Regions from separate parts of the Homo sapiens genome. Here all the other regions are linked to region 1. Evidence: promoter capture Hi-C in human tissues and cell types (Jung and others, 2019). All regions are on one chromosome and are shown on one strand. The core of a region is centred on a gene start or on the middle of the fragment in contact, and the rest is flanking DNA. Distances in the headings are between cores, read along the strand shown. Region 1 holds the start of FAT4 (FAT atypical cadherin 4). Region 2 overlaps FAT4 (FAT atypical cadherin 4). Region 3 overlaps FAT4 (FAT atypical cadherin 4). Region 4 overlaps FAT4 (FAT atypical cadherin 4).

Region 1 (6,958 bases), core at 1,404-3,903:
TTTTTGCATATTTCATGCATACAATGATCTCTATATGTCTTTACTTTCTTTCATTTACTTTTGGAGAGGGATCCATATTATTTATCATGCATGATTTACTTTTTGGGAGGGCATCCATTTTTTAACATGCATGATATTACAGGTTGAAATGCAAAAGAGAAAAGTAACAACAAAATACCTTTGTCTTTTATTAAAACCATGCTCTATATCTTACCTTAAATTGTGTACCTATCTATACATAGATTGTAAATTCATGTATAGGTTTTATCTATAAATGAATATGTTACTTTAAAGTAGTCATCATGCGAAAAGTTTCTACTTGTTAAAATAACCACACTATTGGCTAAATAATTTTCGATAATCCTCTTTTGAAATTGTCCAAAAAATTTTTATGTACTCTATCTCTCTATATATTTTCTGTATTAGTTTATTTTGCCATATCTTGTTTTGTAAAACTAAAATGTATACATATTGCACTGATTGAATACTTTCCATTTCACAGAATGAATGATCTTCACCTGTTTCCCAAATTAAATTCACTCATATATAATGCAAATGTAATACTATTGACACTAAATCTGAAGATTATCCCACAGGCAAAAAAAAACAAGCAAACCAACAAAAGTCCATGATCTCCTACAACAAGTATCTGAATGATTTCTTTCTGTTTATTTCTCTATAAATACTTGAATAATAGTGCATTAGGAAACAAAATAAAACAAAACAGTAATATTCTCTTAAAATCACACAGACATGATTTGTAAAAATTTGTAAAAATTTGTTTGCCACTTTAGTTAATCTACAAATATTTTTTGGCTAAATTATACCAAAAATAATGGTGTTAGGATTGTAACTTAAGAAAAATACGATTTTTGAAAAACAGGCTTAAATGTCTCTAAAAAGTCTAGAGTCTAATGTTTTCAAGTTTTAAAATACATAAATGGTTAAATTTAACTTTTTTGTCTGTTTCCAGTTAACTCATTACATTACAGTAGAGGAATATGTAGAAGTTAGCTTTTTAACCTAAACAGAGGAATTGGTGATAGCTTTAGAAATCATGTTTCCATAAATCAGTTTTGAGTTACAGGCTGCCTGCATCATCAAGACTTGAATTTGCTGTCTGTCCTACTATTCTTGATTTTTTTTTTTTTACTCTAAATAAGAAAGGCACTAGGAAAGTCTTAGAGATCGTTTTCTTTGCTGCTATCCCTAGGCAAGAAGCAGGAATTAGCCTTGTAATCCGATCCTTTTAGTCTCTGCATTTAATTTTAAGCAAGAAACCAGGAGACTAAAGATGTAAGACTGACGTAGAACAGCAGAGGGCAGTATTTACTCATGACTGAACCCTCTCTGGGCGCAGAAAGTTTTACGTTTGTGAGGGATCCTTGTGGCAGAAATGTATGACATATGCCCTGTATTTGCATTGTTTGGCTTGAATTCTTATTTTCTAGGTTGGTTCCCTTAAAGGGGAAAAATATCGATCTGATTCCTAGTAACGTTTTTCTTCTTTTAAAGAAACGATGCATGCCACCACAAAAATTAACTGCAGTGAATAGTGGGTGAGTTGATCTGAGTGCATTAAGTGGCATGTGGGTATTTTTAAAAACTTAAGCTTAAATATTATTTTATTTATTTCTACTTTCTCGTATCTATTTCTCCCAGACTGAAAAGCAAAATAAAACTTTATTAGGTTTCCTTTGACTAAAAAATGTGGAGGTGGAAATACTCCATCAGGGATCAAAATTCCAAACTAACTTTGCAACAGGAAAAGATCTCCCTCTTTTCAAAGGGCTGCCATTATTATTGTTGTTGAAACCCTAAGGTTTGGGCTACTGGCACCTGGAATCCAGTTGGGAAAGAAAACAAAACAAACACTGAGTTCCCCTGGCCTTTCCTATAGTAGGAAGTCCAAAGTGCCCTTGCTACGGAGGCCTCCTGCCCCCTAGTCACCTGGAAGGTGGGGGAGAGGGGCAAGTGAGTGAAGATTTAGAGTTTAGCTCGCCCTAGACAGCAGGGAGCCCACTGTGTAGAAAGAGGAGCAAAGGGGAGGATTTGATTTGGATTCTGTGGGATCACACTGTATGGCAGCTCTATCCCTTGCATAAAGAGAGAAGGGGCAGGAAATGGTTAAAGCAAATCTGCACTGTGCATTCCCAGACAGGCTTTGCTTAATCCTTCCTCCCCGCTTTAACAGACCCTCACCCCCCGCCTTTCTTTTATTTCTCTCGACCCCCTTACCCCTGAGTTATTACTAGCATAACAACCTAACGGTCTTCCCCCAGACCCTGCCACTAAAGTTATTTATCTGCAAACCTGACCCCACCCCCATCTATTCTGCGGCAGCCTTTTGCTGTTATTGCTCTGACGCCGGCCAAGATTTGGCCGAAAAGGAAAAAAAAAAAAAAAAAAGAAAAGAAAAAAAATCACCCCCCTTTTTAGCGCCTCCGCCTCGCTGTGCTCCCACACCAGACCGCCTACAGCCCTCCGGGAGGCTGAAGTGATTAGCATCCCGAGAAGCCAGTCGGAGGCCGGGCAAGGCGGAGGGCGCTCGCGGTAGGAGTGCCGGTCGGGGCTGCTTCAGCTCCGGCCCAATGGGGCTGGGGCGAGGGAGGGGCAGAAGGTGACAGGACTGGGAGCTAGGGGGAGTCCAGGCGAACTAAAGTGCGGGGATCAATGAGTGTCGAGCAAAGTTTCTGAGTGCTGCTCCAGCTCGCGGTCTTCCCTCCCCCTCTGTTTGTGTTTCGGCGACGCGCTGTGTGTGTGTGTGTGCGTGTGTATGTGTGTGTGTGTGCATGCCTGTGCGGCGGGGAAGGGGCGGGGAGAGTGTGAGGGACCAGGCGGGAGGTGGAGAAGGGCTCGCGGAGCCCTAGCTCCACCGCAGTCCAACCTTCGGCCCCGGCCGGCGAGAGGGAGAGCGCTGACAGGCGCCGTCCGGAGCTGCGGAGGGCGTCACTACAGCCCAGCGCCGACTTCGCCGCCTCCGCTGCCAACTGTGAAGGAGAGAGAGGCATCAACCACCCCCCGCCCCAAACAAAAAGCCTTGTGGATTACAAAGTGAAACTGACACGGGACAATAAAAGCAGAGATAGCGAGGGCAGGGGCGAGGCGCGCTAGAGTGGGCTTCTGACTGGGGCCGCCGGAGAACGACCCCCCCTGGCATGGTGAGGGGAGGGCGACTCGGGGACCGCACGCTGTTTCTGCCCGACCCCTGCGAGGCCGAGAAGAAAGGGGAAACTGCGTTCGATTTGGATGTACAAATAATGGGTCGGCAGGCGCCCCGGCAGAGGTGAAAAATGCCGAGGAGCCCTGGCTGTTGTTTGTGCCGGACCACGGGCTTGAAGCCGCAACAGGGGCGGCGGCGGCGGCGGCTGCAGGAGGGGAAGGGGCAGAGTTGAGCGCTCCCGGGTACGGGAGCCAGAGCGCGAACGCTAGCGCTTGGAACGCAGTTCCCGAACTGCCTGCGCGCAGACGCCGCCGCCTGGGCCTCAGCGGCCACTGCCGGCGCCCTGTTGGAGGGGCGTTGCAGCCTGGTTTTTGAGGAGTGGGGACTCCAGGAATTCCATCGCCTCCAGCTTTTGGGAAAGAAATTCGATTCTCCCGGTTCCCCACCACCCCTTCCCCGGTGCGCAGTTGTGCTTGGACGTTTGTTCCTCCCTCTTCACGTTCTTCGCTGCGGGTAAGTTCTAAAGTTTCTGAAGACCGTTCTTTGCAATGATTCCTCATATACCTTAGATACAGGCAACTTCTCCCAACTCTCATCCACCCGGGTGAAAACGCTCAGACTATCTGGATTCAAAAACAAAGTAAAAGGGGGCATATATAAGAGGCTTGAGAAACTTTTCTGGGAACTCAGCTCACAGGAGTGTCCCGCGGAATGCCCTGCCGCTTTTCGCCACAGCATCTCTCTTGCACTCCGCGTTCAACTGGCTACCTAGAGTCTTTTGCTGATGCTACTTGCTTTTGCCGGACTGGAGGTTCTTTGAAATAGCAGAGGTCTCAGACCAAGCCGTCAGCTGAATCTTTGCTGGCGCTCCTTAATCCCTGTAAATATCATTGCGTTTGCTTCACCCCTTCCTTCTCTTTATCACATCGTTTTAGGGAGCCAGGACCATGGACTTAGCACCAGACAGGGCTACTGGCCGCCCGTGGCTCCCGTTGCACACTCTATCAGTATCTCAGCTCCTTCGAGTGTTTTGGCTACTGTCATTGCTTCCGGGGCAGGCCTGGGTCCACGGGGCCGAGCCGCGCCAGGTGTTCCAAGTGCTGGAAGAGCAACCTCCAGGCACTCTGGTAGGCACCATCCAGACGCGCCCCGGCTTCACCTACAGGCTCAGCGAAAGCCACGCCCTGTTTGCCATAAACAGTAGCACCGGAGCCCTGTACACCACCTCCACCATCGACCGCGAGAGCCTGCCCAGCGACGTGATCAACCTGGTGGTCCTTTCCAGCGCGCCCACCTACCCCACCGAAGTGCGAGTGCTGGTGCGGGACCTCAATGACAACGCCCCCGTTTTCCCGGACCCCTCTATCGTGGTCACTTTCAAGGAAGACAGTAGCAGCGGACGCCAAGTCATCTTAGACACCGCCACCGACTCGGACATCGGCTCAAACGGTGTGGACCACCGCTCCTACCGCATCATCCGCGGCAATGAGGCGGGGCGCTTCCGTCTGGACATCACCCTGAACCCGAGCGGCGAGGGAGCGTTCCTGCATCTGGTGTCCAAGGGCGGACTGGACCGTGAGGTCACTCCGCAGTACCAGCTCCTGGTTGAGGTGGAGGACAAGGGTGAGCCTAAGCGGCGGGGCTACCTTCAGGTAAACGTGACTGTGCAAGACATTAATGACAACCCCCCGGTTTTTGGCAGTTCTCACTACCAGGCGGGGGTGCCTGAGGACGCGGTTGTGGGTTCCAGCGTCCTCCAGGTGGCGGCGGCGGACGCGGACGAGGGCACCAACGCGGACATCCGCTATCGCCTGCAGGACGAGGGGACCCCCTTCCAAATGGACCCTGAGACGGGACTTATCACGGTGCGGGAGCCCCTGGACTTCGAAGCTCGGCGCCAATACTCGCTTACGGTGCAGGCGATGGACAGAGGCGTGCCTTCCCTCACTGGGCGCGCCGAGGCGCTGATTCAGCTGCTGGACGTGAATGACAATGACCCGGTAGTGAAGTTCCGCTACTTCCCGGCCACCTCGCGCTACGCCTCGGTAGATGAGAATGCTCAAGTGGGCACCGTGGTGGCTCTGCTCACCGTGACGGACGCAGATTCTCCCGCGGCCAACGGGAACATCTCCGTGCAAATTCTCGGGGGCAATGAGCAGCGCCACTTTGAAGTGCAAAGCAGCAAAGTGCCGAACCTGAGCCTAATCAAGGTGGCCAGCGCCTTGGACCGCGAGCGCATCCCTTCCTACAACCTCACAGTTTCCGTCTCTGATAACTACGGGGCGCCCCCTGGCGCAGCAGTCCAGGCGCGCTCTTCTGTGGCAAGCCTGGTGATTTTTGTTAATGACATCAATGACCATCCTCCTGTCTTTTCACAGCAAGTGTACAGAGTGAACCTGAGCGAGGAGGCGCCTCCGGGAAGCTATGTGAGTGGGATATCTGCCACTGATGGCGACTCTGGTCTCAATGCTAATCTGCGTTACAGCATTGTCTCTGGCAATGGACTGGGATGGTTCCATATCAGTGAACATAGCGGCCTCGTGACCACTGGGTCCTCTGGGGGCCTGGACCGTGAACTTGCTTCCCAGATTGTTCTGAATATAAGTGCCCGGGACCAGGGAGTTCACCCCAAGGTGTCCTATGCCCAGCTTGTAGTAACTCTCCTAGATGTGAATGATGAAAAGCCAGTATTTAGCCAGCCAGAAGGGTATGATGTGTCTGTGGTTGAGAATGCCCCAACAGGGACAGAACTGTTGATGCTCAGGGCAACTGACGGGGACCTGGGTGACAACGGAACAGTGCGCTTCTCCTTACAAGAGGCAGAGACTGACCGGAGGTCCTTCCGTCTGGATCCTGTGTCTGGGAGGTTGAGTACTATTTCCTCCTTGGACAGAGAAGAGCAAGCCTTCTACTCCCTGTTGGTTCTGGCCACAGATCTGGGCTCCCCTCCCCAGTCATCAATGGCTCGCATAAATGTGAGTCTTCTGGATATAAATGATAACAGCCCTGTCTTCTACCCGGTCCAATACTTTGCTCACATTAAGGAGAATGAGCCTGGAGGTAGCTACATCACCACTGTGTCTGCCACTGACCCAGACTTGGGTACCAATGGTACTGTCAAATATAGCATATCTGCTGGGGACAGGTCTCGGTTTCAGGTCAATGCTCAGAGTGGGGTTATTTCTACAAGAATGGCCCTAGACAGAGAAGAAAAAACAGCTTATCAGTTGCAAATAGTAGCTACTGATGGTGGCAATTTACAATCTCCCAACCAGGCAATAGTAACCATCACTGTATTGGACACTCAAGACAACCCACCTGTATTCAGTCAGGTTGCCTACAGCTTTGTGGTTTTTGAGAACGTGGCGCTGGGATATCATGTGGGTAGTGTGTCTGCATCCACCATGGATCTCAATTCCAACATCAGTTATCTCATTACTACTGGGGATCAGAAAGGTATGTTTGCTATCAACCAGGTCACTGGGCAGCTTACCACAGCAAATGTGATTGATAGAGAAGAGCAATCCTTTTATCAGCTGAAGGTAGTGGCCAGTGGGGGCACAGTGACTGGAGACACTATGGTTAACATAACAGTTAAGGATTTGAATGACAACTCTCCCCATTTCCTTCAGGCAATAGAGAGTGTAAATGTGGTGGAGAATTGGCAGGCAGGTCACAGCATTTTCCAGGCCAAAGCTGTGGACCCTGATGAAGGTGTCAATGGCATGGTACTCTATAGTCTGAAGCAAAACCCCAAGAACCTGTTTGCTATCAATGAAAAGAATGGCACTATTA
Region 2 (6,893 bases), core at 4,238-6,737, 130 kb after region 1:
GTTAGAATAGCACCAGGAACAAAAAACAATGCTCAATAAATGTCAACCCATATTGTTCTAATCATGCAAAGCACCTAGCCCTCTACCTGTCTATCATTTGTTAGTGCTAAATAAGTTTCTGATAATGATTTTGGAAGAGATGCCCTATCTATTGTAATGTTATAATCTAATAATTCTTTATCTGCCATGCAGATGCTGTTTCTTAGACAGTATATAGAATATTACCAATCAGATATAGGGAAATTCTCTTGTATGAGATGTATAAATTCCTGAATATGAAGTTGAATGTTTACAAACTTGATCCTGTCTTCCATTGAGTCATTCATTTATTTCTATAATAAAGTAAATGCTGTGATGACCTGCTGTTTTTTTCTAGTGCATGTTAAAGATTCATTGCAAAATGCTATCCTATGCTTGTGAATTATGCTTGTAAATTTGGTCTAGAAAAATTGTATTCATACTCTCAAACTGTTTTACAAAGCTGTACTGGTAGGTCTGATGGGATTGTTTTGCTTTGGTAGTATGTATTTTGGTTATTTGATTGGTTGATTAAATTTTCTTCTTTTAACATGAGAATTAACATTATACTTTTACATACATTGAAATCCAAAAACCCCATCAGTGAAAATCTTAAAATGACTCTACAGACTATCATATATTCAGTTAAAATGAAAATTGAAGCTATTTTTGTCTTGTGAATAAAAAACATTCAATTCACTTGCAAATTAACAGGGCAAACAATTATTGCAGCTTAAATAGAAAATATTTTCACAGACAAAGTAAATAGTTATTATAACCTCAACTTTATTTACTCTGGTTTGATAAAATCTTAATGGAATATAATGTATTTTATGGTTGGTGTTAATAACTCCTTGCTATTCATGGTATCCTGAAGAAAATCTATTCTTTCTTCAGATTAAAAGAGCTATTGGTTTAATTATTTATCTCCCATTTAAATTTTACATGGTTCGGTTATTTACTGAACTACTGTTGGGATCTCCAGGAGCATAAACTTTTATGTGTCTTATAAGTTAATTTTTTTCCAATGATCTAGCATGATTTTGCATATAGCATCCAGCCAACAATGTTTCTTTTTTACTTCTACCTATTTGATCAAACTTTGTATTTCTACAAATGGTGTACTTACTTTATGTTATACATTTTACTTCACCTTTAGTATTTTCCCTTATAGAAAATCAGACTGTATTAATTCTTAGTCTTTCTCTATCCAGATTATGTCTTTGCCTTCCACATATCTATTCCAGAGCTTAGCTTTTACAGATATGTATCCCCTTTTCTCCCAACTGGACCAAATCTCTATTCAAGCCCCACTTCTAATTCTTCTGTATCACAACCCTGGAGACAGCCACAAACTCCACTGACAAAGTCAACATTCTAAGGAAGATTTCTTTTCTTTTTTTTTTTTTTTGAGATGGAGTCTCGCTCTGTCACCCAGGCTGGCGTGCTGCGTCGTGATCTCAGCTCACTGCAACCTCCGCCTTCCAGGTTCACGCCATTCTCCTGTCTCAGCCTCCTGAGTAGCTGGGACTACAGGCACCCACCACCATGCCCGGCTAATTTTTTTTTTTTTGTATTTTTAGTAGAGATGGGGTTTCACCGTGTTAGCCAGGATGGTCTCGATCTTCTGATCTCGTGATCTGCCTGCCTTGGCCTCCCAAAGTGCTGGGATTACAGGCGTGAGCCACCGCGCCCCGGCCAGGAAAATTTCTTAATATGTGCTATTAATCTCTTCCCATTCAATTTCCTCCAACTCTTTAATTCAAAAGTTACTCATTTTTCTTGTGTTTCTTCAAGTTCTCTCTCTTCCTTGAACCATGTAGATATCTATATAAATGCTCATTTACATAAGTTAGCGTATCTACAGAAATGCTCAGAATTTCTGTTGAATTCTGGTTCTTTTATTTGCCTCCCATGGCCTAGGAAAGTCATTTTAGTGCCTCAAAGGCTTAGTTTCTGCATCAATAAAAATGAACATAAAAATTTATACTTTACAGTTTGTGAGACAAACATTTACTAACCACCTACTATGTATCAAACAGTATGTATGGAATCAGTTAATATCCATAAATGTCTCTGGCATAATTATTAGGACATAGAAGTCACTAAATTAATTCAAGGTTTCTTTTTTCTTTTTATTCTTCTCATATCATCTTTTTTACTCCTAATATATTCTTTCTTTTACAATATCTGGTACATAACAGTGGTTGTCACTTAAATAAATGCATTGAATGAACGATTTTAATATTCTCTGGAATGGCTGCTTTTACTCATTCTATTTTTACTACAACATTCTTGAAAGCTTCACAACCTGTTTTCTCTGACCATTTATTCCTGAAAATCTTTAGTCTGATTTTTTTTTTCCTTCATTGCTTTACTAAAAAAAGGCCCTGTCAGAAGACTACTGAAATTTTTCAAGTCCAGTGACTTTTCTAAGTCCTTATTCTCCTTTACTTTTTGCAATGTTCACACTACAGGCCAGGCCATCTTTTCTTTTTGGCATTTTTTCCTGCTCAATGTCTATATAAATATTATTTCTTATCATCCTGCATCTCTGATCACACACAGTTTGTTTTCTGTTTCTCTTTTCTCTCTCTGGAAAGTAATTTGAATACTTCTCACTGCATTATTTTCTCAGTACTTGTGTGTGTGTGTGTGTGTGTGTGTGTGTGAGAGAGAGAGAGAGAGAGAGAGAGAGAGAGAGAATTTATTCCATTGCTGCAAGCATCAATTCTGTGAACAAAACCTCCAAATCTGTACTATCAACTCTGATTCCACTCCAAAATTTTGCACCCATATTTATAACTCGCTGATAGACATATTACACTGGAGGTTCTGTTGGCATCATAAACACAGTGTACCTAAAATTCTTTGCTTTTCCTGTTTCTCATTTTGGTTTTCTGCTTTGTTTTAATAATATTGTCTTGGTTTGTTTTTTACCACACCTTGCAGCTAAGGGTCATCCCCTCTCTTATACTCAATCAGTGGACAAATTCTCATGTTTCTTCTTTTCTAATGCATCTGGCACCCATTCTTTTCAGTGCATCCCTTCTGCCAAGATCCTAGTTCAGTTCATAATTACATCATGCCTGTACTATTATAATAAGAATTAACTCACTTCCACGCCTCTAGTTTCTAATCCTTCCAATCTATGTAGTACACTGTCCTGTAAAATTATGAAGCCCTGACTATGCACCAAAAATTTATTAAACTCTCAGGAGTTTGGAACTCTAGGGCCCATAAGAAGTGCAATTTAATAGAAGAGATAATTTTGTAATTTCTTAAGTGTAGTACCGTATAACAAGTATAGTTTAAGCACAGAATAGGTGGAAAGAATAGTATGGCCAATGATCCTTCAATGATACTAAGTAGAAGTAGTTTATGGAGAAATAAAGGAATGAAAGATATTCTAGGCAAAGACAGTATCAGGTACTAAGGCAAAGAGCTATGCAAAAAACATGGCATTAGAGAAAGAAAGTATTTCCATATGGTTGGTGTGGGTTAGGAATGGACTTTGTATACCATATAAAAAATTCAAAATTTCTTTCTGCATCTAAGGAGAGAAACAATGGAAATGTTTTAAGCAGCAAGCACAAAAACATGCCTAGTTATATTTCATAATTATTTCTTTCCCAGCATTATAGGAAATAATTTGTACAAAGCAAAGCTGGAGTCAGTGAATTAAAGGGCAATGGCAGAAGTATGCATCAACATGAGCATCTCTTGGCTCTGCTTTAACAATTATACTTCCTTCCTCAAAATCTTTCAATTCCAGTTTGCCTATGGTATAACCCCCAGTCTTCAAATTCTAGTCACCCCATAAATGGCCCCAGCTAATTCTGCAAAACTCTGCAACATATGGCCAAAAGTTCAGTATTACTGGATCATTTTCTGCTCATGGGACAAGGATCTGTGCTTTCCCAAGCCTTATAGGTTTGCTCAATTTATTCTATATCTTTGACCAGGGCTTGGCAAACTACTACCTGCAGGCCAAATTGGGCCTAGTGCCTGTTTTTGTAAATAAAGTGTTATTGGAACACAGCCATGCCCATTCATGTACCTATTGTCTTTGGCTGCTCTTGCCATATGATGGTAAGCTGAGTATTGCAACAGAGAATATATGACCTGTAAAACTGAATATCTTTACAATCTGGCCCATTATATAAAAGGTTTGCTGACCACTAGCCTAGACCTTCTTTTGTTTCTGCCTTTTTGAACACTATTGAAAGATGGGTAGCCCCTTTACAACTTATGTTAAATTTACCTTTCTCTGAGGAAGCTTTATTTTAATCATTCCAGTCAAGAGTGTTCTGTCTTCTGAATACCTACAGTGACACCTCTTTACTGTTTCATAGCACTTTACTGTTTTGTAATTACCTTTTTTTTATATCTTTCTGTCATAAAGGACATAAACTTGAAACCAGGATTTTTTTTAACCTACTTAACCGTGTCTCTGTTTTGAATTTTTAGTCCCTTTATCCATTTAACTATCTAAATATAGGTTGAGCATCCCTAATCTGAAAGTCCAAAATCTAAAATGCACCAAAATCCTAAACTTTTTGAGCATGAACATGATGCCACAGGTGGAAAATTCCACACCTGATACCTTTGCTTTCTGATGTTTCAATGTTCACAAACCTTGTTTCAAGCAATTATCAAAAATATTAGATAAAATTATCTTCTGGCTATGTATATGAGGTATATGAAACATAAATGAATTTTGTGTTCAGACTTGAGACCCATCCCCTAGATCTCTCATTATGTATATGCAAATATTCTATCCAGAGAAATCCAAACACCCCTGGTTCCAAGAATTTTGGATAATGGATACTCAACCTATGTATAGATAGATATGGATAGATTGTATGTAATAGACTATTACGTTATACATATATATTATATAGGTCCTATTATGTTGGTAAACTTAGACTTTTAAAGGCTCACCATTTATCAATTACAATGCCAAGTGCTCTTTATACAAAATATTTTTAATAGTCAAAACTACCAAATAAAAAGTAAAATATGACCTCCACTTTACAGATAAAGAAAGAAGGCTTAAAAATGTTAAGAAATTTTTGTGAATTTAAGTGCTATTCATGGGGTTTAAATTTATGTCCAAGTGAACTATGTTCTAAAGTCCAGTCTCTTAACTAAATGATCATATTCTCCCAGCAGACAGTATAATGCCTATAACCCTAGTAGATCTCAGGAAGAGGCAAAGAAGTTTTACAAAATCAAATGGGGATATTTTAACTTTACAAAAGCAATAGTTGATTTAGGGTTCAGATCACAGTGGTCTCTGTTTATGCAAATAATTTGAAATAGTAATGTATTCTCAAATTAGAAAATAATTTAACGTGTTTATTGATTTTCATTGAACTAAATGTGAACAAATTCTATATTGACACAACTTGAGCAAGAGTCCATGTTGGCCTTCGCAATTGGTACATTTTCCGTCTTCACTACATTCCCTCAGTTGAGTTTTACCTTCCTTCTACTGTGGAATAATGGGAAAAGTGCATGGTGAAGTCATAAAGACAGAAATTCAAACTCTAGATCTGCTATTTATAGATTGTATGTTTCTTTGTGCAACTACTTTAGTCTCTGTTAGATTCAGATTCATTATCCCTAAACAGTCAAAACTAAAACTAAACTATAAGGATAGTTTTGGGATTTAAATAAGAGCATATATAAATTGCCCAGTAGTGTGCTTGACATGCACTAAGAAATCAATAAGCTCCTGGAAATATTTAAGTAACAGCATAAATGTTTAACTGTTAAGAAGATACCACAAGACACAATCTAATAAAGTTTTTAACTTTACAAAAATTAATGCAGGCCAGAGAAGCAAGAGAGGTCATCAGGAGGGATGAGAATAGAACCAAGCCTCAAGTAAGAGATGTGGCAAAAATCTAGACATATTATCTTAACTGTCGATCTACGTACAGAGCTTATTGTGTTTCTTCTATTTTTAAAATTAGAAGTATAAATTTTCATCCAACTGGTGTTATAGAACATCTCATATTTAAAATATACTTTTATATGCTTTAGAATCTAGTGAAGTCTAGAAAAAATTAATTAGATATTAATGACTATTTGCTCATTCATTTTAAAAAATACTAAATATATTACCTACTTTAAAATAGACAGTCATACGGGCAATAGCATGTGCAATAGCATAAAATTAAAAAATCAGAATTTATACCATAGGTTTCTTTGTCTGTTTTGTGCTGCTATAGCTACAGACTGGGTAATTTATAAAGAATAGAAGTGTATTTGGCTCACAGTTCTGGAGGCTGGGAAGTCTAAGGGCATGGGGCCTGCTTTTGGTGAGTGCTTCCTGTGTGTTATTTCATGGCAGAAGGGCAGAAGGCATCACATGGTGAGCAATCATGTGAGACAGAGAGAGGGAATCAGGCTGAACTCATTCTTTTATCAGAAGCTCACTCCCTCAATAACTAACTCCCACTTCCGTGATAATGGCATTAATCCACTCATAATGATGGAACCCTGATGGTCTAATTCACCTCTTAAAGGCCCTACTTCTCAACATTGTTACAACACTGTTACAATGACTAATTTCAAGGAACATTTAAATGATAGCAAGTCTTTTTGAATGGATCATTTAGTGAAACTGGACTAAAGGCCACACCATTTGCCTATCAACACATTACGCTTAATAATACACCATGGTCTTGGCATATACAAAACATCCAGATGAAAATTTATGTTTTTTATCAATCTCATTTTATTTTTATTTGTGAATATTTATAGGAATAAATATTTGATTGAACCTTGATCCTTGCCATTATAAAACTAAAAAAGTTTATGGCAGCATGGCTTACTTTATTTTCCTATTAAATTATTTGATTATT
Region 3 (6,456 bases), core at 1,334-3,833, 150 kb after region 1:
AAGTAGCTTAAATGCTTATTTCTGTAGAAAATAAGCATATATTTATAAGCTTATGAACATTATGTGTGTAATCATATGTAATCATTTGTAGTCTCATTGAGGTTGTGTTTGTGCTTGTTTTACAAGACAAAGGTAAAAACTTTTTTTGGTTGTTGCTTTTGTTACTGGCAGCCCTTATTAAAACATGGTATTTTTGCTTTTGTTTCAATGCAAAAAAGCCATAAGGCTATTGAACAGGATACTTAGACTATCTTCATAGCTCCTTAACAATAATGGGAAACATTTGCATACTGTGCAAAAGACAGCTACTTTTTGCTAAAATAATTTGGAAAATATATAAGATAAATGCCTAGAATGAATAGCATATATTTATTATAGAATTTCTTTATTAATAACATAATCAATTTAGACCTAAAATGGATTTTTAGAGTTGCACATATTCTCCCATCTCCTCTGTGTAGAAATACAGGAGATTTAAAAATAATATTTATGGTAGTCTAATATGTATATATAATCTAAGATCTTAAATTGAAGGCTACATGTATCATAGGGTATCAAAAATTATCGTATCTTCATGGAGTGGTCCAATTTAGCAGTTGAGAATAAATTTAGCTCTATTTCACATAATCCAACATTAAAATGTGCTTGGACAAGTGAAACTTGAATATACATTCTTGTTGAAAAGACCATAGGTGATTACAATAGATTCAGTTTATGTTCAACACGTCATCACATCTTCTGCCCCCAAACATGAAAATAGACACAAAATTTCTCCTGTAAGTTTAGGAAAGTCTGCGGATACCATGGATTCCTATTATGCATTTATTTTCACCTTAAGCTATTCCCACTTTCCATGTGCTAAGAATTTACACTTCTTCAAGCACATCTCCTTCTAGTTATGATAAATAGTGTATGGCAACACAATTAATTGATGGATGTCAAAGCAATGAGATCAATTTATTCTTCTAAACAGCTGCTATGGCAGTAAACATATCTTAATGGAAGGAGGCCTCTTGAGTTCAAGAGGAATAAATGCCTGTCTTTGTGCAAGTCCTATCAGCATACTTCCAAGCCTGAAGGCGTTTGGCAAGTATTGTTAATTGACTTGTAGCATTAATTAAGTTAATGATCCAAGATTTTGTTTCACAGTGCTTCAACACATCAGATTATTGTACCAAGAGCATGTTAGAGTAATTCAAACTACTGCATTCTCTGATACTCATTATGCTATTAACACTACAATTTAAGTAGATAGACTTGCACAAAACAATTCAGAATTTTGTTAATTTCTAATTGGGTAAAAAAGCATAAACTTTCCAAACCTGAGAAATATGCATTTAGAAGCTTTCTTTTGATTCTAAGTAAAATTATGGAATCCTTTTCTCACACAAAAGACACAGGTGTTTTAAATAATAATTTAAATTTAAATCTGTTTTCCTACTATGTCTTTGAATTCAAGTATCTGCTATGGCAACCTCTGAGTTCATGAATTGTAAAAAATTTTTACTCTTTAAATGGAGAACTCAATTTTTAAATAGTAAATAATTTACATACTCTACCACCAACAGATAAGACTATTTTTTCCAAACTCAACAACAAATTCCTTTATTTAACCCCAAACAAAGCCATTTTATCTATTTTTTTAACTTATATTTTAGGTTCTGGGTACATGTGAAGGTTTGGTACATAGGTAAACTCATGTCACAGGGTTCGTTATACAGATTATTTCATCAACTAGGAATTAAGCCCAATACCAAATAGTGATCTTTCCTGCTCCCCTCCCTCCTCCCACCCTCCACCCTCCAGTAGACCCCAGTGTCTGTTGTTTCCTTCTCTGTGTCCATGTGTTCTCATCATTTAGCTCCCACTTATAAGTGAGAACAGGTGGTATTTGGTTTTCTGTTCCTATGTTAGTTTGCTGAGGATAATAGCCTCCAGCTCCATCCATGTTCCCACAAAAGACATAATCTTGTTCTTTTTTATGACTGCATAGTATTCCATGATGTGTATGTACCACATTTTCTTTATCCAATCTGTCATTTATCAGCATTTAGGTTAATTCCATGTCTTTGCTATTGTGAATAGTGCTGCATTGCACATTCATTTGTATGTGTCTGTATGGTAAAATGATTTATATTCCTCTGGGTATATACCCAGTAATGGGATTGTTGGGTCAAACAGTAGTTCTGCTTTTAGCTCTTGAGGAATAGCCATTATTAATTATTTGTAATTATCCACTAAGACAAAGTAAAAAGGAACAACCTTATTTTTAAACTGAAATACTGAATGCAAGGTTGAATTTGTTTTTTCTTAACAATTTCTATTTCTATTTGTGTATACTTGAAGAATCAGATTCTATTGAGAATTTAAGTTTTATAGGAAATTCGTTCTCAAAATTAGTATTTTATTGGTTTGTAACATCTTCTGCCACTTTGTAATCACTGTATGTTTTAATAAATGAATAAGTCTTATTTGTGTTAGGATATATTTCCACTCCTCACTCTGGAGTAACTGCAATAGCCTGTATTTTATATTTAAATTAAACTCAGATGTCTATGTTAAAATATTTTATACAGGGTTAAATAAGAATTGATTCATATAATTATACACAAAAAGAACAACACGTAAATTTCATTTGTTGCTATTTAACTCAAGATTTATAAAGGTAGTATTTGTAAATGAAATTCAAAAAACATATAGTAGCTTTATAGGAACAATGACTTGGGATTTATACTCATATATTTTTGTCAGAGAGCACATATGTCCAATTATTTGAGTAAGTATACATAGCAGTACCCTCTACATTTGTTACTTCTTATTTGTTCCTCATTTCCAGTCGTTAAGAAGTGAAGGTGGCAATTTTGTAACCCACTAACATGTTTTCATGATAACAAGGCTATATTGAACACACTTATAAATACATATATAAGTCTATGTATTTTATACATGTTACTTTTAACACAACTCTAAAATAATTTTTTGGATAAAGAAAGGAATGAAAGAAAGTAAAACTGTACCTAGTCAAAAAGCACAAGTGAAAATTATGTGTGCTTTTACAGTGAAAACCAAATGGAAAGAGTAGAATATTACTTTATTGATGACAACTAATCAAAAATATGGCCAGTAGACCTTATGTATTTGCAACTGGGAAATACTGTGCTGTAAGAAAAAAAAATCTACATCACTAAAATGGCCTTCACATAATCAGTTGAAAAACAAAACAGGAAAGAGTTCTGTGAAACCGCAACTCTCTGGTGAGAAATCAAGCACTATTTGAAGTTTTCCTGCCTATTTCTCCAATGTAGTACACTGCTACAATACTTAAAACCTGATTTCTGTGCCCATAAATTTGTAACTTGTTTATTTTCATGCCCTTGCCTTAACAATACAAAGGTATTCTGAAATTGTTAGCTCAATGTTTTGCCTTATAAGGAGGTTCCCAATTTATTTATAAGGGAAAAAATGTTGTGTTTATGATTCTGTGATGTACAGAAATGGGCTTAGTTAGCATCATGAGATCTGACTCACACTTATAATTTCAGACCAGAATAAGTGTGGCTCCGTAATCAAGCCACAAAAACAGAACCAATTTAAACAAAATTTTGACTGTGTTTTAAGCAAAGTTAGTATGATGAAATGAAGTATCTATGCTCAGCAGTAGGTCTCGTTGTGCATATAGAATGCATATCATTTCCTGAGCTATCTAATAAATGCATTAGTGAAATTGGGCTGGGAAGTAGAAAGTAACTTCCAGAAACAAATGATGTAGTATTTACAATCCTACTCTCAATGAAAAGAAATTAACTAAGAATTCTGTAACATCTCACTGCATTATGAAATTTGAAAATTAGATCCTAACGAATGTATCAAATGATTGCAATACTTTAAAGTTATAGAACAGTGGTATTAGAACATGTTTAAGTTTAGGTAAAAATAAGTAACAACAACAAAAACAAGTGGGACTTATACTCCAAGTTTTATACACCACGTGATCAACTACCATAGTTTTGTGAAACCTGGATATGGGAGCAGAAGCCCTAAATTGGTCTGTGTCATAGTTTTACAGTTTCACAGACAATATATTAGCCTCCAAGAGGCTTTTATTCTTCACTTTTGAAATGTAAATATTTCCTTTGTATGGATTAATACTCCCTACTGAAATGGAAACACAGTCTGAAGACACTTGTTTGCTTTCTTCACTGCCATATCCCCCTCCATTATCATGTCTGGCCCATAATAAGCACTCACTCAATATTAGTTGATTCAATTTAACAAGATCATGTATGAGAAAAGTCTTTATAAACTGAAAAATATGCTGTTTAGGTATTATCGCTTCAGACAAAAGACAAAGTATACATAATCTGTAGTCAAGAATAAATTTTCATAAGCATTTGAAAATATGATGTGTTTTCTTATTTCTTATTCTGCTTTACAACAGATATGTGTAATTCAAGTGATATTTCTTAGTAGTAGAAAGAGTGTAGTTTGATAAATAAGATAAGTTATTATCTTTGAAATACCTAAGTCAAGAAAATCTCTGCAGTGAAAAGAATACTGTAAGTTTCAACTTTCTATCTATAAAATATAAAAGATGAAGGGACATTGACACAGAAAATAAATTCAGTGAAAGCATTTAAATATGTTTATCATGTCATTTCTCTGCAAACAGTATTTTCTTCCAAGATGATTATGTAAATTATTTCCTAAGTATTATAATGCACATTTTACAATAGGACAACTAAACAAGATTTTAAATTCTAAGATATTATTCTAATTTCCTTATGTCAAGTAAAACGTTTTTATATTTCTTTTCTCCGTGATATGCCTTAGGAAAGATTTTTACGTATGGTAATGGTGTAACGGTGTTAATATATTTATGTATGAGATTTAAAAAAAACTGAATTTGATATATTTTAGGGAAAATGTGTGAATCTTCAGTCAATTACTGTGAATGCAACCCCTGCTTTAATGGTGGTTCCTGCCAAAGTGGTGTGGATTCTTATTATTGTCATTGTCCATTTGGTGAGTAAAACTTATTTGTTGATATAAAATATAAGTTTATTTTTGCACACAGTTTAGCAATTTTGTTTTATTATGAGTATGAAAGACCAAAAAATTATTGTTTTACATGGAAGGTTTTATTAAAATAAAATCTTAAATGTTTAACATTTGTAAAAGTTATGGAAATCCCATTGAATACATTGCATTGGTCATTACTAGAAAAAGAGTCAACTCAAGATAATTGAATTAATATTGTTTCCATAGGATATTTCCCCCCAAAGATTTATGGATATCTTCTTTTCAGCTGAGAAGTTATGAAATAAAAAAATTCTGTAAGCACTCTTTCACGTCACTCTCTATTTCAAATCTTTAAGAGTAGTCAAAGTAAGGTTTTTTGTTTGTTTCACTTTTGTGAATTTTGCTTTATTTTTTATTTTTGTTTTTTACATTAGTTTTTAATTTTGTTTTTTATGTTAATTCAGCCACTTTTATTAGAAGGACTTAGTAACTATACCTGACGTTTTCATAATAGGCTTTTTGTAGCTGATACTACCTGACTAATAAAATTTCAGACTAATCTGTCTTTTGGATAAGAAAAATTGTTAAAAAGAACTTTTTTGTATACATACATATTTATTCACCCTAGTGGAATGAACTAAAAGATTCCTTCCAGGTCTTATCCAGCTGTTACCCATTACTGTGCCAGCCAAAAACCATGAGATTCAGAGGAAGCATTTGTATTAGCTTGGCTTGTTTCATAAGTTTGTGATTATTCCATTCTTTTTAAAGGCTGCTTTACACCACAGCATAGAATCCATCTCCAAATGACTCTGTCTCTTTTCTTTTTTTTTTTGTCCCCTTTGTATATCTATTTATTTATTTTTTTATTATACTTTAAGTTCTAGGGTAATGTGCACAACGTGCAGGTTTGTTACATATGTATACATGTGCCATGTTGGTTTGCTGCACCCATCAACTCGTCATTTACATTAGGTATTTCTCCTAATGCTATCCCTCCCCCCTTCCCCACCCCATGACAGGTCACGGTGTGTGAAGATCCCCTTCCTGTGTCCAAGTGTTCTCATTGTTCAATTCCCACCTATGAGTGAGAACATGCGGTGTTTGGTTTTTTGTCCTTGCGATAGTTTGCTGAGAATGATGGTTTCCAGCTTCATCTATGTCTCTTTTCTTAAGCAAGAAAGAGCAAGGATATTTTTCTAGTCTTCCTTTGGGCATATAACTGTGCTATATGGACCTGAACAGTAAAGCTCAATCTATAGTAGATAATAGAATTTAAAAGACATACGCAGTTCCTAATAACCTGTATAATTTACTAGGTATTTTTAATTTCCAAACAACTTCATGACTATCTGTTTTTATTAAGCACATCCATAGAATGATAAAGACAAACAAAATAGAAAAATATCTAATTTTGAGGAATGTATTTTACCAATG
Region 4 (6,624 bases), core at 3,094-5,593, 170 kb after region 1:
TAGGCTTTTACATAATTTGTTTTTTCTTATCTGTAAATAAGATACTAGACTTATATACAGATGAATAATTTCATTAGATATCCATTTTTGCATCGGCCCTTAGCTTTCTGAAGTTTTAAACCTATGTTCTGCTTTCTTTCCCACAAATAAGTCATCTCCTAGACCAACAGTTTCTTTAGTTTAGTTATATTTACTGCCTTCCATTAATATTACTTTGTATCATTCTACTGATAATTTTTTATATAAATTTTAGTAAATTCTTAAGATAACAAATCCAGATTTCCTGAATTATTTTCATCTATTAGTCAATATTTAATAACTACTCCAGGGATAGTTCACAGAGAAAAAGAGCAATTTGTTCAGAAAAATTATTTGGTTTAATTCACATATAATACTAAAAATAAAAATAGATGTTCACTTCTAAACTTCAGCCTCTTTCATCCTCAAAATTTTTCTCTGTGCAAGCCAACCATGATTATGTTGCATATAAATATATTTAATAAGTAGTACAAAAACCAATATTTCTTACCTTCTCAAATGATAATTCCTCTAGTCCAGTCATTTCCAACTAGGATAGATTTTACCCCCATGGGACATTTGGCAATATCTGGAGACATTTTCAATTGTCACGGTTAGGAGTTGGGAGAGTACTTCTGGCGTCTAGCGGTAGAGGTCAAGAATGCTGCTAAACAGTAGCACTTCACAACAAAGAGTTATCTGGCCCCAAATATCATTAGTGCCAAATGGCAGACACTCTACCCTTTTCCCTTACAAGAGAACATCTTCAGGTTTTAACTTTACCTCTATTGAAGCAAAGGACCCAGTTCCAGAGTTAATAAAACAACTGTAAAAGAGAACACATAAGCCATTGTATTACATTATTATCTGGTACTTATAATTTTCATTGAAAATGGTATTAGAAGTAAACAAAGTAAAGAAGCAAAAAAAGAAATAGATCCTCATCTTCTATAAGAAACATATTTTATATGGTTTGAGAGGCTTTGACATTGAGGTCTGTGTGTTATCTGTTAAGTTGCTTCCAAGTCTTCGTGCCATTTAAATGACATATGAAATATTTCTGTACTAACGTACACTTAAAGCCAAGGAATTCAGTCAAAATACAATGTGGTTGAAAAAAATCAGAGACACATTTTTTTCTTCACTAAGGAAAAAGCTGAATGTCAGGATCCATTTTTGTCACCATAAATTCTTCTACTTCCAACAGGACAGCGCATACAACTCCAGATTTTGTTAGCTTGGTAGCAATAACTTAATTTTTTTCCTGAAAGGAAAGTAAGTGCAAATTAATAAAAAAATGAATAATACAGACCAAAATGCATAGTTTTATATGAAAATTTTGAAAAGAAGCTTTTCAAAGGGGCTTGGCAGGTAAAGAGAATAGGTAAGAAAAAATAACAACAGTGAATTAAGAATAACTAAGTAAACCAAAAGAAAGTGGCTGTTGTAAGCAGGCAAATTATTTGGATGATAGGAGTATCAAGTGCTTATACAGACTAGGAAGCTAGTTAGGATGGACTTTTACTTATCAATTAGCTTATTGGTCACCAAGACCCCAGGGTTCCGTTTTTTTTTTTTTTTTTTTTGGCTCCTTTTCTGATCCTTTCTTTAACTCTTTCTTATGGTTTGCATTCTCTCTCTCTCATTCTCTTTTCTATCATTCTTTCTCTCTCTCTCTACAGACACACATACACACACACACACACACACACACACACACACACACGCAGACAGAAGATGAGGACATTTTGTGAAAAATGAGGAAGGGTGTTGGGTAAATGGGATTCCATGTGGCTAGAAGAGAGAGAGGGTGTCAGTGTCAGGTGTGGGCAGCAATAGTGATGAGAGGAGAGAGAAGAATATGTAGAATCAATTGGGTCTATTCAGAAAAAGAAAAAATTAAGAAAAGAAAGTTTCAGAGAGAAAGGCAAAAGGAAAGCATAATTGTGTAAAACTTTGTAGGCCAATATTTAACTCATTTCACAAATCTCTCTTCATTCATGGCATGCCCTATAGCTCCATATTTGATGTTCTGTAATAATAGTAATGTGATGGACTTTATTTCTACTCTAAATCAGTTCTTTTGTGTTTGTCTGGTTTTTTTAAGTGGGCAACATAGGTGATACAGAATAATTGGAATAAGGAATTCAAAGCTCTATAGATTCAAATTAAATAAATGAACAAATAAATGCAGTCATGAGTTGCATAATGACAGGAATGCATTTCGATAAATGCATTGTTAGGTGATTTCATTCTTGTGCAAACATCATAGAGTGAACTTGCTCAAACCTAGATGGTACAACCTACTATACACCTAGGCTATATGGAATAGTCTATTGCTCCTGTGCTATAAACCTGTATGGCATGTTTACTGTACTAAATACTGTAGGCAATTGTGACACAGTGGAAAGTATTTGTGTATATAATCATATCCAAAAATAAAAAAGGTACAGTAAAAAGGCTGCATTGAAGATTTTTGGGGGGATGGGGGACAGCCTGGGCAACAGGGTCTTGCTCTGTTGCCCAGGCTGGAGTGCAGTGGCATGATCTCGGCTCACTGCAGCCTCTGCCTCCTGGGCTCAATGTATCCTCCCACCTCAGCCTCCCAAGTAGATGGGACTACAGGTGTGCGTAACCATGCCGGGCTAACTTTTGTATTTTTTTGTAGGGATGAGGTTTCACATGTTGCCTAAATTGCACTTACTGTGACTGAAGCTTGTAGGACTGAAAGTTGCTCTGAGTCAGAGAGTCATTAAGCAAGTGGTGGGTCAATGTGAAGGCCTAAGACATTATTATACACTTCTGCAGACTTTATAAACACTGTATGCTTAGGTTACATTAAATTTATCAAAAATATTTTTCTTCAATAATAAATTAACTTTAGCTTACTGTAACTCTTTTAGTTTATAAACTTAAAATTTTTAACTTTTTTCTCTTTTGTAATAACAATTAAAACACAAATACATTGTACAGCTGTACAAAAATATTTTCTTTCCTTATACCCTTATTCCATAAGCTTTTTTTCTATTTTAAAAGTTTTTTATTTCATTTTATTTTTACTTTTAAACTTTTGCATTAGTAACTAAGAAACAAAAAAACACATTAGCCTCAGCCTACACAGGGTCAGTATCATCAAATCCCTGTCTTCCACCTCCACATCTTGTCCCAGTGGAAGGTCTTCAGGGACAATAACACAGATGGAACTGTCATCTCCTATGATAACAATGCCTTCTTCTGGAATCCCACCTAAAGGACCTGGATGAGGCTGGTTTACAGCTATTTTTTATATCATTAGAAGCAGTACCCTCTAAAATAATGATTAAAAAAACGGTGTAGTAAATGCATAAACCACTAATATAGTCATTTATTATCAAATTGCATGTGATATACTTTTATACAACTGGCAGCTCAGTAGGCTTGCTTACACCTGTATCCCCGCAATGAGTAATTCGTTGTGCTATGACATTACAATGGCTACTAGGTCACTAGGCAATAATAATTTTTCAGCTCCTATGGTTCATCATTGACTGTTTATTAATAAATAAAACCAAGCAAAAATTAGCATGATGTTTTAAAAGTGAAGAATTATATAAGTGTTAAGTACAGTACTGCCAGGGAGAAGGAAAACATTAAGAATGTTATAATGGGAACTTATATTCTTATCCACCCCAATTTGTGGTATATTCCAAGTGCTCTTTCATCAAAAATTTATTGAATAAAAGGATGACATGATGAAATCAATTAGGAGGAAAGAGCTGGGAGAAGGCTTTTCCTTTTTTTTTTTTTCAAAAAGGACTCCAGCTATAACCAAAGAAAGTTGCTGTTTTTACTGTGTGTCATGAGATGTTGCCCATTTGATGAAATGTTATTGTCATTTAGCTAGAATTTTCTGTTTTTTTTTTTTAGTTTGGTACTGAAATATATTATTATCTGGAAAAATTGGCTTTAATAAAATATTGCTATATGAATAACATATGTAAATGTGTTAGACATCTTTTCGGTAAAGTACAAATGAACTGATTTTTAGTTTTACCAGATGTGTTTGTTACATGTAGAAATAGCATTTGATCTGAGTGACAAAATAAACTGATCCATCTTTTCATTCCCGTTATTTGAGGAACAGTGCCACTGCATCCCCCTGCCAACACACCAGCTCTGTCTGGCAGTGGTAACAGGATTATGCTCCCTGAACCAAATGTTCATCTTGCCTCATAAATTATCTCATTTTCTAAAATGGTCTACTCAGGATACTGGAAACTCGGTAGCTGGAAACTGGAGTGGGAGCACCCTGTTACCCAATGTTCTCCTGGACAAAATAAAATAAACCAAATATCCTTTAGATAAATTGTAAAAGACAGCCAAAGTGAAGGCTTGCCCAGACACCTCATTAAGAATTCACTCTTTGTTCATCATAGTTTTTGATCTCAATAAATGATATAAACAATAGGCATCATTTTTTCCTAAAATTTGTGTGTAAAAGATGAGAGGTAAAACAATTATTTTCATCTTTATTTTTAAACTATGCTTCCCTTTTAGCTGAGCATTCTTTTTCTTTTTGCAAGTGGTTTTCACAATTTTTTAGTACTATGGGCCTTTTACTAAACGAACCAGCATAACACACTCCAATGGCAGGTTGTCATTGGAATACAAATAATTTAAAAAGGTATAATTTAATTATCTTAAATGGACATTCGCCCCTTTATTATTTCAATTGTGTTCTGGAAAATAATTCATCAAGTTTTGAGAAATTAGGTATACATATAAGAATACGTTGAAAACCATTGAAACTTAAATGTAAAAGTACATGTTGCCTAAAATTAGAGACAAAGTGTGTAAGTATATTCTAATACAACCAGATTCTTCAGCTATTCTATCTGCTGTGGACTGGTCAAAAATTTAAGTTTAGTTTTGTTAATGATTTTTATTTAAGCATACCATATTTTAATTGCATACTATTTTTAATATGTTTTACAGATTAAGAATGGCAAAGTATATTTTACATCCGATGCAGGAATTGCTGGGAAAGTGGAGAGAAATATTCCTGAAGTATATGTTGCAGACGGCCACTGGCACACTTTTCTAATTGGGAAAAATGGAACAGCAACAGTATTGTCTGTTGACAGAATATATAACAGAGATATTATCCACCCTACTCAGGACTTCGGTGGCCTTGATGTGCTTACTATATCACTTGGAGGAATTCCACCCAATCAAGCACATCGAGATGCCCAAACAGGTAAATGCCTTTATTAAGTAGAGTCACAAGGGAAGTAAAATTGTTCTTCAAAAAGTAATTGCTTTTTCTTGTGGCAAGACTACACATTTAACATGAATCTCATATACAGAACAATTTCATTCAATAAAATTTATGTTTAAAAAAGTAGTTTGATGTCTGATAATATCAATTATAAATATCCTAAGAATGTCATAACTATCTTCAGAAAGTTTGTAATAAACTATTAGCCACCACTTTCTCGAGAGCTTGCATCTTTCTTACCAAGGTTGTAATTCAGTCCATAGTGTTTTGATGCTTTGCTTGTCCACCAAGCATTTCATATACATTTGTTCATTTATTTATTCATTCACAGCCACTCTCTTCATAGACCATTAATGGAGACAAACATTAATCAAATTCTTACACAAGTAACTGCATTATTCTAATGTGTGATAAATAATACAAATGAAGAATGTAGAATTCTAAAATATAGTGAAAAAAGAGAAAGGAAGGGGAATTTTGCTGTGGAATTGACATGTATACATAAATCTGAATGATGAGGAGGATGAAAGTGTACGAAAGGTTAATTTATGTTGATAGGAATTTTTTTAAAGAAATCGTTTAAGCCAAAGTTATAGAAGACAACACATTGGAGGCTAACATCATAGGCAAATGATGAAGTTGGAGAATGAAGCAACTTCCTGACCATGTTGCAGTTTTGGTCTTATTTACAGAGCAATGGGAAGTAATTGAAAACTTTAATCACAGTAGGATCAAGTTAGATATGCAGTAATATTACAGATCATTCAGGCTACAGCATGGAGAATGAATTGGAGGAGGACACGAGTGGATCTACAGAAATGAGTTGGGATCTGGGCAAGATGTCTTCTGAGCTCCTACTAGTGTGGTGGCTGAGGAGTTAGAAAGAAATGGATAGGCAAGAAATATTCTGGGAACTAAAATCAACCAAACTGTTAGTGATTATGGTAAAATTCAAGGAGGTTTCTACTTCTCAACTCAAAGAAGGGTAGGTCAGCAAGAGAGGAAACTGCAGAACCCTCCAAAAGCAGCATATGTCTGAGAAATATTAGATTTGGTTTGGGACATTTTGGATTTGAAGCATCTTTGAGAAAATCCTTTGGATGGATGGGCTGGAAATCAGAAATAGACTTTAGCTGGAAATATATATTTAAGAGTGGTCAGTGTCAAGCAGGTAACTGAAGTACTGGACATGGATGTGATCACCTAACATGAGGGCGTAGAGTGAAAAGAAAGCCTGGGACGTCATCTTGATTAACCGTAAGAGTTAATGGTTATGTAGAGGAGAATAAGTCGGAAAAGAAGACTAAGTAATAGGAAGAAAATCAGGAGTATAGGAACAAAAAGAAAAG

What was found. Contacts are between HindIII fragments. The study calls those that stand out against the background at their distance.
Region 2: a contact is called between a fragment that was not itself captured here and the fragment with the promoter of FAT4 in region 1, in 1 of the 25 tissues and cell types used here (heart right ventricle).
Region 3: a fragment that was not itself captured here is called in contact with the fragment with the promoter of FAT4 in region 1 in 1 of the 25 tissues and cell types used here (H1 embryonic stem cells).
Region 4: a contact is called between a fragment that was not itself captured here and the fragment with the promoter of FAT4 in region 1, in 3 of the 25 tissues and cell types used here (H1 embryonic stem cells, heart left ventricle and mesenchymal stem cells).

Annotation. Positions count from the first base shown.
Region 1 is chr4:125,312,302-125,319,259 of GRCh38, forward strand. FAT4 (FAT atypical cadherin 4) reads left to right here and starts at 2,654. Exons shown (of 18, transcript NM_001291303.3): 1 at 2,654-3,676; 2 at 4,099-6,958. The coding sequence starts at 4,111. The HindIII fragment of the contact is 10,793 bases long and covers 718-6,958 here.
Region 2 is chr4:125,437,922-125,444,814 of GRCh38, forward strand. The region is part of intron 8 of FAT4 (FAT atypical cadherin 4); the gene reads left to right. Among named protein-coding and RNA genes, the nearest start is that of MIR2054, 66 kb to the right of the region's middle. The HindIII fragment of the contact is 4,358 bases long and covers 3,309-6,893 here.
Region 3 is chr4:125,458,646-125,465,101 of GRCh38, forward strand. It overlaps FAT4 (FAT atypical cadherin 4), which reads left to right. Exons shown (of 18, transcript NM_001291303.3): 11 at 4,918-5,022. Among named protein-coding and RNA genes, the nearest start is that of MIR2054, 45 kb to the right of the region's middle. The HindIII fragment of the contact is 6,113 bases long and covers 1-5,640 here.
Region 4 is chr4:125,482,353-125,488,976 of GRCh38, forward strand. FAT4 (FAT atypical cadherin 4) reads left to right here. Exons shown (of 18, transcript NM_001291303.3): 17 at 4,993-5,254. Among named protein-coding and RNA genes, the nearest start is that of MIR2054, 22 kb to the right of the region's middle. The HindIII fragment of the contact is 4,587 bases long and covers 2,051-6,624 here.